Linked DNA regions of Homo sapiens: regions 1 and 3 are each linked to region 2. The links are contacts of gene promoters, found by promoter capture Hi-C in blood cells and fetal thymus (Javierre and others, 2016). All regions are on one chromosome and are shown on one strand. Each heading gives the region's core, a stretch centred on a gene start or on the middle of the fragment in contact. The rest is flanking DNA. Distances are from core to core; before and after follow the strand shown. Region 1 overlaps PPHLN1 (periphilin 1). Region 2 holds the start of YAF2 (YY1 associated factor 2). Region 3 overlaps PRICKLE1 (prickle planar cell polarity protein 1).

Evidence for each region. Contacts are between HindIII fragments. The CHiCAGO score rates a contact against its expected background, and 5 or more counts as called.
Region 1: a contact is called between a fragment that was not itself captured here and the fragment with the promoter of YAF2 in region 2, in 2 of 17 cell types (non-activated CD4 T cells and activated CD4 T cells). The highest score is 6.0, in non-activated CD4 T cells.
Region 3: a fragment that was not itself captured here is called in contact with the fragment with the promoter of YAF2 in region 2 in 1 of 17 cell types (naive B cells); the score reaches 5.4 in naive B cells.

The regions. Positions count from the first base shown.
Region 1 is chr12:42,401,051-42,405,367 of GRCh38, forward strand. All of the region lies in intron 9 of PPHLN1 (periphilin 1), which reads left to right. Among named protein-coding and RNA genes, the nearest start is that of PPHLN1, 77 kb to the left of the region's middle. The HindIII fragment of the contact is 221 bases long and covers 2,546-2,766 here.
Region 2 is chr12:42,236,572-42,240,930 of GRCh38, forward strand. YAF2 (YY1 associated factor 2) reads right to left here and starts at 1,677. Exons shown (of 4, transcript NM_005748.6): 1 at 1,584-1,677; 2 at 1,028-1,153. The coding sequence starts at 1,609. LOC124902920 (a long non-coding RNA gene) reads left to right here and starts at 1,874. Exons shown (of 2, transcript XR_007063279.1): 1 at 1,874-2,156; 2 at 2,566-2,707. RefSeq lists silencers at 803-1,132, 1,253-1,322, 1,423-1,802, 1,853-2,092, 2,283-2,422 and an enhancer at 968-1,469. The HindIII fragment of the contact is 7,822 bases long and covers 353-4,359 here.
Region 3 is chr12:42,480,892-42,485,424 of GRCh38, forward strand. All of the region lies in intron 1 of PRICKLE1 (prickle planar cell polarity protein 1), which reads right to left. Among named protein-coding and RNA genes, the nearest start is that of PRICKLE1, 110 kb to the right of the region's middle. RefSeq lists silencers at 1-72, 2,022-2,091, 2,482-2,531, 2,602-2,861 and enhancers at 386-997, 2,212-2,331, 3,048-3,956. The HindIII fragment of the contact is 4,922 bases long and covers 112-4,533 here.

The DNA of each region.
Region 1 (4,317 bases), core at 1,406-3,905, 170 kb after region 2:
TGTGGATGTCACATGCCAGGTTTGAGAGTAATCAGAATGTGAGTTTGCAGAGAATCTTAATTTCTTGCTTGTACCAGTCACCGTCAACCTTTCTTAAAAATTGTGTTTGTAAATACAATTAATAAAGCCTAAACCAAAACAATTGCAGGGATGTGCCTGAAAATATTTTTTAAATATATTATACTCTTCAAATTACAAAAACTTGCCATCTGTAGAAGGACGAGTCTCTCTCTTTTTATTTTTATTTGGTAGATAATAAATGAGAAAAGAACAAGTACCATGAATTCGTTTTTAAACCTCTTTGGCTCTTTCAGAACACTCTCCTAATATAATGCTGTTTTATGAAAATGTTTATTTTTCTACCTATAAGCAGGGGTCCCCAACCCCTGGGCTTGTGGACCGCTACTGGTCTGTGGCCTGTTAGGAACTGGGCGTCACAGCAGGAGGTGAGTGGCCATGGGGAGGGGGGAGGGAGGACAGGGGAGTGAGCATTACCTCCTCAGCTCTACTGCTTGTCAGATCAGTGGTGGCATTAGATTGTCACAGAAGCGCAGACCCTATTGTGAACTGCAGACACGAGGGATCTAGGTTGTGTGCCCTCTCACTCCTTCCGTGGAAAAAATTGTCTTCCTCAAAACTGGTCCCTGTTGCCAAAAAGGTTGGTGTCTGCTGCCTATAAGTATGCTATCTTTTGAAAAAAGAGCTGATTATATATTCATCAGGTAATTTATAGTTAAAATATAGATAGGAATCATTTTAGTTATAGGGAAGGTACCATTTTGAGGTGTTTTTTGTTGTTGTTTGTTTATTTGTTTGTTTTTTGAGACAGGGTCTTACTCTGTCGCCCATGCTGGAGTGCAGTGGCACGATTACACCTCACTGCAGCCACCACCCCCCAGGCTCAAGCAATACTCCCACCTCACCCTCCTGAGTAGCTGGGACTACAAGTGTGTGCCACCACTCCCAGCTAATTTTTTTTTGTATTTTTTGTAGAGATGGGATTTCACCTTGTTACCCATGTTGGTCGCCAACTTCTGGGCTCGAGAGATCTACCCACCTATTACAGGCGTAAGCCACCGCACCCGGCCCATTCTGAGGTTCTTAAACATAAAGAAATAGAGTAATCAGGGACACTTGGGGAAAGGGATTGATTATTTTGGTGTTCTTTTCTTTCTTTTAACTTCAAAACACTTATCCTGAATATTTTTTGTTTCTGTAAAGACAATTTTTATTATAGTCATAGCTATGCCAGCTTTGTTATGTGAAACTTTACTTCTTAGCCATTTAGGAACCCCTTTCCTTATTACAATTAGCTAAGAAAAATTGAGTTAATTCAGACTTTATTTTGTTGATTGTTATTAGCTTTATTAAGAGTCTGTTGTAAGTCTAAATCTACTTAATATATTTTTTATTTTGAATTCCGTACTATCACCATTTGTGCGACTATATGGGCTACTTTACTAGCTTTTCTTCGCTTTTCCCTCCAAATAAAAGGGTTGGGCTGAATAATCTTAGGTCTCTTCCTGATCTAAATCATACTGAAAATTAAAAGTTAAATATTACTTTTTCTGTACACAGTTGTGTGTAGTAATTTCATATTTAACTATAGAATTTTAAGTTTTTTTTTTAAACCTTCTTAAGGACACAGGGCTCTTAAATTAAAATAAGTTTTTAAATAACCTTCGAATATACCACTGTTATGTGTCAGTCAGTAATTAGTATTTGTTGAGTTAATGAATTGTGCAGAGCAGGTTTTCTTCCGTAGATAGGGTGTTAGATTTAATTGTAAGTGTTGTAGCTGTGGCCATTTTCTCTTCTTACAGTGTCTCATTTCAGCTACTACTCATTGTCTGATGATTCCCAACACTCACTAGCTCTTGCTGTTTCTCATATATAATCTGTTTTTGTTTTACATTTAAAGAGGCTAGAAGTAAAGATTAGTGAAATGTACAGTCTTGAAAATGTTAACTAGAGTTGTGGACATGGAAAATAATCAGCTTTTAGCATATGATGCATTCCAATGAAATTGTTTTCAAAGTAGTGGCAGCTGTATCTATTGTTGTAGGTTCAAGATCTAAGCATTTCATAGTAACCTTACATAATAGAAACATTCTTTGTTTTTCCTTTTTATCAGAGCAAGTAACCAATGTTCTTTAAAGTGCAGCTCTCACCACTATCTTGTCTAGACATCAAGTCTACCCTACTGTATTTAACAATCCATTATTACCAACCACTTGTTCAGATTTTACATACATACAGTTAGTAAAATATACTCACATAAGATGTACCTCTGAAAGTCTGGATTCCCAAAACAACTTGAAAAGAGATGATTTATTTTGACCAAATTTCAAAGAGTTTGAAAGTTACAATTTACCAGATTCTGGTCATGCTGTTACTGCAGAAGCTTGTTGAAGTAAAAGTATAAAGTTTTTATTTTAAGAGAATCTAAAAGCTATCTCTATAAGATAATTTGTATCATATTTAAAAGGAAGCATCTCTTAAAGGTAATTTAGTTATTTTGTACCTGATATCTCTTTAAGTGGGAAGCTTGATGAATCTGTTAAGATGTTATATTTACATCAAATATAAAATCTAGATAGTACAGATACCAAGTCTTATTAGAACCATACTTAAAATGATATGAGTACCTTAAGGGATGAGGCCATCTTGCACCTTATCCTTGGGGATGTTACCACTGAAACAAAAAATACCCAGTTATAAAGCAGTTCCAGTAAAGGTAATCCCCATGGCATAAACCCAAGTATAAGCTTCATTTTCTTACCTCTTCTCCTCATCCACTCTCTACCAGTGTTAGGTAAGGATTTTACCTAGTGGTTCCAAATTACTGTCCCATGCTACTCAATTTTGTTTTCTTAGGTCAACAATTTTTTTTAGTCTCTGAGTATTTTATGGTAAGGACATTTATAAATGGCATGGTATAATGAACACTTAGTGTTTTCACATCTTAGAGACCTTTTCCTCTTTTTTTTTTTTCTTTTTTTTGAAACGAGGTCTCACTGCATTCTCTAATTATAAGTTCTCTCACAGAATTGACAACCTATTATATGTGAAAGCCGTTTATGTATGAAAATTACCATACAGGTGGTTAATGGTAGTGTTAAGTAATACTTTCTGCCTGTTTCTTTGCAGCTTTGCAATATTGATTACTTTCAAATTACTTCTTAAGAATATTTTAGGCTGGGCACAGTGGCTCACGCCTGTAATCCCAGCACTTTGGGGGGCCCAGGCGGGTGGATCACTTGAGGCCAGGAGTTCGAGACCAGGCTGGCCAACATAGTGAAACACCATCTCTACTAAAAATACAAAAATTAGCCCAACATGGTGGTGGGTGCCTATAATCCTCGCTACTTAGGAGGCTGAGGCAAGAGAATCACTTGAACCTGGGAGGCAGAGGTTGCAGTGAGCCGAGATTGCGCCCTTGCACTCCAGCCTGGGCAACAAGAGCAAAACTCCGTCTCAACAACAACAACAACAACAACAAAAATATTTCATAGCAAGTTTGTGATATAGGTTTACCTCTGAAAGGTGATTTTCTGGTCAGTGTCAAGGTTTCGACTATTTGCCTCTTACCTCTTCACTTCTTTTGTTTTGTTGTTGTTTATTTCCTTTTCCCCACCTCCTTCCTAATTTGTTCAAAATGAAATGTAAAAATACTATTAAAAAATATTTGTTTTGCAGCCGGGTATGGTGGCTCACACCTGTAATCCCAGCACTTTGGGAGGCTGAAGCAGGCGGATCACAAGGTCAGGAGTTCAAGACCAGCCTCACCAACATGGTGAAACCCTGTCTCTACTAAAAATACAAAATTAGCCGGGCGTGGTGGCCCATGCCTGTAATCCCAGCTACTCAGGAGGCTGAGGCAGGAGAATCGCTTGAACCCAGGAGACAGAGGTTGCAGTGAGCCAAGATCATGCCATTGCACTCTAGCCTGGGTGACAGAGTGAGACTCCGTCTAAAAAAATAAAAATAAAATAAATTTTTTTTGCTTATTTTGGGGGACTTTGTGATTTTGCTTTCACATTTTTCATTTGGCTTGCTCTTTTTATCTCAGTGTTCCTTATCTGTTTTGCTTGTATACACATAGCATAAAAAGATTAATGTTTCCTCCTTAGAATTCTCTACCGTCCTTTTCCTAAAGCATAAGTTGTTCTCATACTTTCCCCTTCATCTGTCATCTCTCATTTTTAAGATGTGATCTGTCTTGAAACATCTGCTGTCCTCTCTTAACTATTGTTTAATTCAGGTATTGTGCCAGGAGAGAACAAATGTGTATGTTTTATATGCACTTGAGTGCTG
Region 2 (4,359 bases), core at 427-2,926:
TTTTTTAAAAAATCAAGATCTCATTTTTTAGAAATCTAACGTCTACTGAATATTTGTATATGTCAATATTACATGTGCCTTCTTTTTTAAAGCAACAGTAAGATTAGTATGCTTATTGTTATAGTTTAGTTTCTAATGGACTTTGTAATATCAAAATACATATCTTCTCTAAATATTAAGTAATAAATCACAGGATTATATTTAATTCAAAGGGTACCTTCGTATAAGAATCAAGGAGCTCGATAACTAAGTGCTGACAGATTAAGAATGCCACTGACTGAATTTCCTGGATGATTTTCTTTATTCACTTAATTCAAAGTCATTTTTTAAAAGACAGAGTTATTATACTGCAAGCTTACAATAAATAAAGTCTGAAAATAGGCAGAGATCTTTTCATCTCATTTGTCTAAGAGACTGCCATTTAATCAAACTAAAGATATAAAGGTACTTTCAGTAAAAATCTGTTCCTGTGACTGGGCTCATCTCCAACTACTTATTTATAAAATATTAGAGTACTGGAATAAAAACACTAAATAAAACCTTGATCTGACCCTTCCAGAAGTACATGTAGAAAAATAAGTTTTAATATATTGTGTATTCTGCAATCAGATACTTTTCTTTCTTTAGGAACGAAATTAAATTACATCCTTTGCTCCTAAAGAGATTTTATGGGTTTTCCTTGATCCCCACACACTAACACAACAATGCAGCCAACATTTTTATACCCAGAATGGGGAGAGGGGCATTACACCCAGCGATACGAATTAAATCGCAGTAGCTAATGCCTCCCTTAAATAATTTATTCTCTCTTGGCAGCAAAAAACGTTACAGCCTCTTCAATTACCCCTCACCGCAAACCATCGCCTGGGTTGCGATCAATGTGACCCAGTTCCTATCGCCACAGCCACCTCCGTCTGCCTCCTCCCGCCGGGTCCGCCAGTGTCATGGGAGGGGGCGGCAGCCGCAAGGGCGTCCTCTGGTCGCCACCCCGCCGGCCGGCGGCGCGAGGGGCAGGCCCGGGACTCACCGGGTGGAGGTGCCCTTCCGCACATCGCACATCATGCACTTGAAGGCCTCGGCGCTGTTCCGGAAGGTGCAGACGCTACAGTCCCAGTAACCCTCATCCGAGGACGGCTTCGGCTGCCGCTTCGGCCTGCAGGACACAACCCGGACACGACGCGGCGCGGGGTCACCAGCAGGCCGCGCCCGGTGCCCGGGCCCCGCGGCCGCCCCCGCCCCGCCCCCCGCCCCAATTCTGCGACCCCCGCCCCGCGGGCCCTCGGCGCGCCGCGCTCCGGCTGAGGGGGAAGGGAGTCAGGAAGAGGCAGGGCGCGAGCGCGGCCGCAGTCGCCGCCGCCACAGCCGCTCTGACACCCGGGCGGCCGCTCCGGTCGCCGCCGCCATCGCGGCTCCATTGTGGGGCGGCCGGCGCCGGCCCCCTCAAGCGGCAGCACTCGCACACCAGCGGCGCTGCCCCCGTGCTCGCCCCGGTGCCCGGGCGGCTAGCGAGGCGGCCACCCGAAGCCCTGCACGAGGGCCCTGCCGCCCGCACAGTCCGGGCCCCGGGGCCCGGGCGCTGTTACCTGGTGGGGCTCTTCTTGTCTCCCATGGCTTGGCTATCACCGCACGCCGAGAGTCGCCGCCGCGACCGCTCTGTTTGTCAATAAGGAGGATAATAAGCCGGGCGGAAGCGGGCGGGGGAGGAGGGAGGGAGGGGGCGGGGAAGGCCGCACCGCCGCGCTCGGGAGCCGCCGCCGGATCCCACGCAGCCTCCAGCTGTCGGGGAAACTCCTGCCTGGGCGCACGTGACCCTCGCCGGCCAACCAGCAGCCGCGCCGGAGACTTCAAACGCGGCCAGCGCGGCCCAGCACCCGCGGCGAGTTAGCCGGCGGGCGGTGCGGGGGTGGCCGCGGTGGCCGCGGCTGCCTCGGGCGCCGGCGCCGCCTCTCCGCGCTGTTCCCCCGTTGCCCCCTTGGTACCCCCGGCTGCCGGGGACTGCCTCGCGCTCCAGAGCCCCTCTGAGGAGGAAAACGTCTGTCCCACCGACTGGCAGGGGATGCTCCGTCATCCCGTGCGAAGCCTGGTCCAAGGTAGGGCCGGCCGGCGTTCGGAGGCCTGTCCAGGTCTGGACAGAAGTGCCAGCCCGGGATCTCCAGGTAGAACGACTTTCCTGGCCTCCGCTGTCCTTAGCTACCCAGCCCCCGCCTGCAGTATACCGGGGGGAAGGCGGGAACCAACACGCAGCGCCATTGCTACATGCCTTAAAGCACTGTCTGGTTTATGCACACAGATGCTCTAACAAGTAGGGATTGTCAACCCTAACTTAGAGGAATTGAAATCAAGACTCAAGAGAGATTAGGTGACTTCCTCTAGGCTATATAATTAGAAAATGACAAAGCCAAGAGTCTAACTCTGTTTTAATTCCAAACGCGCCCTTTTGGCCTCTCAGGCCTCTGCAGTAGCTGCTTTTGAAAGAAACCCCTATATACTCATAAGTCCTTTTTAAATATAAGGAGTTTGCATGTCCCCTCAACGCTGTCTGCTAACAAAAGAACACCTTCCCAGGTCTCTACGTCAACATACTAAAGGTCCTCATACTCCAGACTCCAGCAACAGCCATCTAACTGGTCTCCGAAGCTCCACTTCTACCTCCCCAATGTATTCAGTAATCCACAACCAGATTAATAATAAAATGCTGTTAATACTATGCCACCACTCTGATAAAGAACCACTAACGACTTGCCCACACTCCTTAGCCTGGCATTCAAAGGCTTCACACATTTTCCCTACCTCTGCCTCCCTCTCCCATAAGGAAAGCTGCCTCCTGACAAAGAGTGCAGATGAAATTCATTCCCTTACCAGAACCCTTCCTTCATGCACATGGGTTACTTCTGCATAAAGTATATCCCTCTTTAACTGTGCTGTTTCTGTCCATCTTTCTAGGTTTACATCAAGTCCGAATTCATGTAAAATAATTTTATAGCTAAACTACATAGGAAATAATACAGTCAGAAGCCCAGGATTCTCAGCCTGCTTCTCCTGTTTCTTAGCTGATAGACCTTGGAAGTATTGCTTAATTTCTGTAATTCTCAACGTTTTCATATTCTGAATTGCATCTATATGAGATTGTTGTGCGATTAATAATAACATTTTTTGGCCGGTTGCGGTCGCTCACGCATGTAATCCCAGCACTTTGGGAGGCCGAGGCGGGCGGATCACCTGAGGTCAGGAGTTCACAAGACCAGCCTGGCCAACGTGGCGAAACCCCATCTCTATTAAAAAATACAAAAATTAGCCAGCTGTGGTGGCGGGCGCCTGTAATCTCAGCTACTCGGGAGGCTGAGGTAGGAGAATCGCTGGAATCCGAGAGTGAGAGGTTGCTGTGAGCCGAGATCGTGCCACTGCACTCGAGCTTGGGCGACAGAGCGAGACTCCGCCTCTAAGTAAATAAATAAATAACATTTTTTTGAGCACTATGTGCCAGGCACTTTGTAAATCCCTGCGCATAGATGCATATTTTAAAGGACTCAAAGTACTATGCACATGGCCTCATCGACTGCAGATGCTCTTCGATTTAGAAAGGGGATACTTCCCGATAAATCCACCTTAAATAGAAAATATTGTAAATTGAAAATGCATTTGGTACACCGATAAATCCATCGTAAAGTAGAAAAATCGTAAGTCGAGCCATTGTAAATCCGTAGTCTAGCCCTTCTTTTTAAAGACAAGGCAATTAGGGCCCAGGTTAAATGGTTTTTCTTTGATGAGCAGGCCAGGGTTAGAGCTCAGGTATCCTATTGGTCTTTCACCGCATCTTCTTTCTGATTAACCAAATCACTCCATTTACATAGCAGTCTCTAAACTCGTTGTACCATCTGTACTTTTTGCAAATGTAGCTTCTCATGATTCAGACCCAAATTCGGAAACCAGGAACCATGAGGAGTATGATTGAGGCACGTATACAAGAGAACCAGATTTAAGGCCTAGTCTTTAACCTCTCAGTAATGCAGTGGGTAAACTCAGCTAAGTTTTTTTCATATGTAAAATAAAGGAGTTAAAACTATTATCACAACTAAGGTCCCTTGCAAGTCTAAGGCATTGTGATGTTTTTAAATGCCTCAACTGGATGGATCCTCAAATAGACTGACAAGAACTGCTCTACTTGCAAAAGTGATGGCAACAATGTATTTTTAAATAAAAAGGAAACTAAATCAAGCACTCTAAAAATCCCCCATGCTGCAAATCACCATTTCACTAGATTGTAACCTCCCTCACTAAAAAGTAAGCCGCACCTCTGAATCATGAACAAAAAGCACAATAACTTTTGTTGCCTTTATTGCTGCATCTCCAGCCCCTAGA
Region 3 (4,533 bases), core at 1,323-3,822, 250 kb after region 2:
GGAGACTGCCACAAGATACTTCTGGGTCTTAAAGAAGATTAATATGGTAGTGATGGTCAGGAAAAAGATAAAGAACCTGAGAGGGGCCAATTAGTACACTGTCCCTAAGAAAGCTTACACATAGTGACTTGGGGAGGGAAAGTAAAAGGAACTAATAGGAAAGGAAGAAATTGGGCCAAAGACAGTTTTGAGTATTAGGTGATTGACATACCAATACATAAGTACCTTAGGGCAACTCAGAAGGGGAGTGAGGATTTGAGGGATTTCAGGAGAATGAGTTTAATCAGATACATATTGAGGTTGTAACTGTATATCAGGTCTGGTATGATTCCTATTATTCATAATTTTCTTGAACCAAGTCACCAAATCAAAATCATGCAAATAGAAAACAGTAATTGTCAGGGCCTGCCATTGAAAATGAAGTATAAGGTCATATCCCTAATTACATTTTTTTCTCCAATGCAATCCCACTCTAGTTCCTATATGAAGACTACCATGGCATTGTAAGATCCCTATGAAAAAGTATTTCTTGTGTGAACATGCCCAGGGAAGTTAGAAATCCTCTGATCACCAAAAGCCAGAACAGATACTGATTTGTGAAGTCAGTTAGGCCAACATTCCCTAGGTGTCCCCTGCTGCTAAGTGCCATCCGTGGGCTACAAACTGCTTAACAGCTTCTTTGTTAAACTGCTTGTTAACAAGGCCTTAGTGCATGGAAGATGCAGATCACAGGTTCTCCATTCAAAAGCTACTCCAATTCTCCCAGACTACATATGCAGGTGAATTAAATTTAACTACAGACTAATTTAGCAGTACAGAAACATGTCACACATCCATTCTTTTCACAATACAAAATATACCACCCTTATGGATATACACATTTCCTTGTTTAGGATGTCCTTAACTTCAATCGAGATGTGAATTTTCCAGTAAAAGAGACACTAAACTGTCATTTCTTTAAAGGTTTCACACACTCAAGGGGCATTCAGTGCTTACTGTCTACTAAAGACAAAGTCACTGCCAACAAAGCCCAATTCAATTTCACTTATTTGAAAAATAAAAACATAATGAAGTTATCAGGAGATATTGTTTATGAAACATTCCTTTACTAAGTTTTCCATACGAGCAATTAGTGGCATTAGGCCATATGCCCTTTAGTATTTTCTGTATTTTCCAGGTAAACCTCCGTCCAGCATTTTCGAGGTAAACCTCCATCCAGCTTGTACATTTCCCAACAGCTGAGTGGGCTATCACACATCACCCAATGGTCAAGAAACTATCCATTTTTCCAAGAGGAAATGTGGAACTCTTTCAAAGCATTCTAATTTCATGCACAAGTACATTCCATGACAGTAAGAAACAAAAGGAGGAAACATGACGACAAAGCCTGGTCCTCCGCCAGCGCGGCGCTTCTAGGGTCAGATTATCCGCACACGAGTATGTAAAGACAAAATCCAAAATGCATGCCATGGAATGAGGGGCACCACACAAGGCGGTGCTCTAATGAGCCCATTATTTTCCATAATGGGGGATGCAGATATTTTCTCAAAATCGTGTTCTCCTCAGTCTTCTATTGATTTTTTGGATTTCTATTTTCAACAGTGGCCCGAGGAAACGGCAGCCAGACTTGACTCCAATGTACACACAGACTCAGGTTTCGCCCCGTCACCTGTTGGCTCCTGAACAACACTCCTCTTTGTGAAACTTACAGCACCCATTTGAAACAAGTTTCCAGAGAAAACACTTCAAGAAAGTGTTTGAGAAGTCACAAGACTCGAGTTGTAAAAACAAATTCCACACATAGCCTGGCTTATAAGGACACAGACTAACGGGAAAGGCCGAGCTTTTAAAAATGGGGCTGGAGGAAGCGAGAAGGAAAGGATGTCACCGTACTTTGGGAAAACTCAGCCGGCCAATTCTTGATGGGGCTGCCAGTGATGGCTGCAGGGGGTCCCCTGGGTCGTCCCCATCCCCGCCGCCGCAGCAGCAGAGACGCCTCAGAGCGGGCGTCGGCGCCCCCTGGGCCCCGCAAACTCTGCGCTCCAGGCGGCGGCCGCTGCTTAGGCCGCGAGGGGGCGCCCTGGGCCGTGGGTCGACCGGCTCCAGCCCCTCTCTGCGTCCCCGGCCCCAGGAGCCAGAGGCCGAGCTCAGGACGCAGAGGCAGCGAGCGAACCCCTCCTCGGCGCCGACGCGAAGCCCCGAGAGAACAGTGCCCCTTGTCCTCCAGCATAGAACAGTCGCCTTCGAATTCCCCGTTACCCTCCTCCAGCAGAAAGCCTCGCGCCGCTCTTGGCGCCGTGTCACCTCCACGGAGCAGCACTCGCCCTGCGGCTGGACGGTGGGGCCGAGCAGCCACGGGTCCCCACGTCTGTCCCTCAGCTTCCAACGAGAAGCCCCTCGCCGGCGCGCACCCTGCAGCCCTCCCGCGTTCAGTCCCCGCCGCCGGCTGCCATCCAGCCCTGGGACCCAGACAGCGGCTCCCACCTGCGGCCCGGACAGCGGCCGAGCGCGGCCTGCAGCCCCTCGCGGCGCCGGCCCCTGAGCCCTCGGCGCGCACTAGCCGCCCGCCCGCTCTGCGTCTGAAGGAGGCTGGCGGCCCGGAGCGGGAGCGGAGGACTCCCGAAGGAACAGAGGGCTGGGTGCCCTACGAGTCACCCGCACCCACTCATTTCCGGAGGAGACCCCAGCAGGGTGGGGCAGCAAGCACCGGGTCCCCACTACATTGCAGCGGACCGCGCCCCCGGGTCGCGTCCCGGTGCTGGCCCCGCCTGGCGGGCGAGGGGTCGCCCCCGCCCCGCCGTGACGCACTTTCCCCCCCGGCCGGTCCCCGCCGAGCTCCCTGGCGGCGCAGCGCGGCGATCCTCACCCGCTGCAGCCCCTCAGCAGCCGTGAGGCATCCCACAAAAGGTCCTCCAGCTCCGCAGAGACCCTCGGTCCCTGCCGGCGTGACGGACTCTGCTCCCCCGGGTTGGAGTCACCTCGTCCAGGCCACTGCATCCCCCAAGCCCCAGCTCCGCGTCCTTCCAGGATCCTCCTCTGCGGGGAGAAAAACTCGTCTCCGCTCAGCGCCGGGAGCCCGCCTGGGGCCGGCGATCTTCAAAAGTAATCAGAGCCCGCAGTAAAAAAAAAAAAAAAAAAAAAAAAAAAAAAAAAAAAAGTAACCATTTCGTTTCCTGCCGATCCCGCCCTTCGATCCCAGCCGGACCCAGCTCCCCGCTCCCGCCCGCGGGCGGCGCCTGCCCAGCCTGCTCCCGCCGCCGCCCGCTTTCCAGGAACTGTCACTGCTGACCGTGCCCCTGGCCGATCTCCACGAGGTCCCGCGCGCACAATTCCTCGAAAAGTTACCCACCCCCTTGGCCAGCCTAGCGGCTCGAGCACCTACCGCCGCCCGCCCGCTCCATTCTCCCGAGCCCAGTGAGTGAAGCCGCTAAGATGCAAATACCCTAGGACGCTTATGTAAACTTCCCCCTCCCGCAGGTGCACGCGCGGGCCACGAAACGCTGGGAGAATATGAAAGGCCACCTCTTAAAGAAATCATCTCCACTCTGCCCATAACAATGATGTCAGCAAATGGCACATTTAAGCAAGTTCTCACTTAGAAGGGCTCATTAGCATATGAATTCTCTTAGGACTTTCCCTGCATTTCGGAGTGATTCCTACTGCTTAGCGCAGGAGATTTATTTTTATCAGTAAATAACAGCAAAGAAAAGGAGCCAGGTCACGCGATGTACTAACTCAAGTACACTACTGAGAGTTTTTACAAATAGGTTAAGTGAATATCATTATTCAAACACAAGGAAGTGTCCCATACTGAAGCTAATCTTGTTTCTGAGCTATTTGTAGGTACACTGAGAGAAAGTGGAGTTTGGCTTCAGTTGTCTACAGAAAGGGTCAAGAGAAGCAAAACATATCCTCAAAGCAAGCCCAGAAAAAAAATGATAGATTAGTACTCATCAGTAGAGGTCTAATCTCTTCTGAACTACAAATTTTAGTTTCCACTATAGCCTCCTTATCACAAGGTGATAGAAATACCAAGAGAATGAAGGGGAAAATGCAATATTTAAGAGCTTCATCAATTTGTAAAATATCAGTAAATAAAAGCAATTTAAAGTGGTCACCAGTTCCTTTGGTATCTTTTTTTTTTTAAGCTAAAAAATAATCCTGTACCATCAGGATTCCTTGGGATTGATTTGCAACCTATGTGGTTCTACAGTATACACGTGAACAATAGCTCATTGTAACTGTGATTTAAAAATACATAAACAAGTTGCCATAAATAGATCAGTCAAGTAAATCACTCTGTGGCCAAATTCTGTTATCTCAGCTACAAAGTAAGGCAGCTGAGAAGTTTTTTTTTTTTTTTTTTTTTTTTTTTTTTGTTACTCTCTTAAAGTGGCAGAAACAGAAAAGTTGTGGCTCTGCTGGTAGACTAGTTTGGAAACACTGATTCGGACAACACAATTTGTAATTCAAATAGACTCTTTATTGGCCAAATGGATTCCGGTTTTGAAGACGATTCCCAAAACGTTCTGA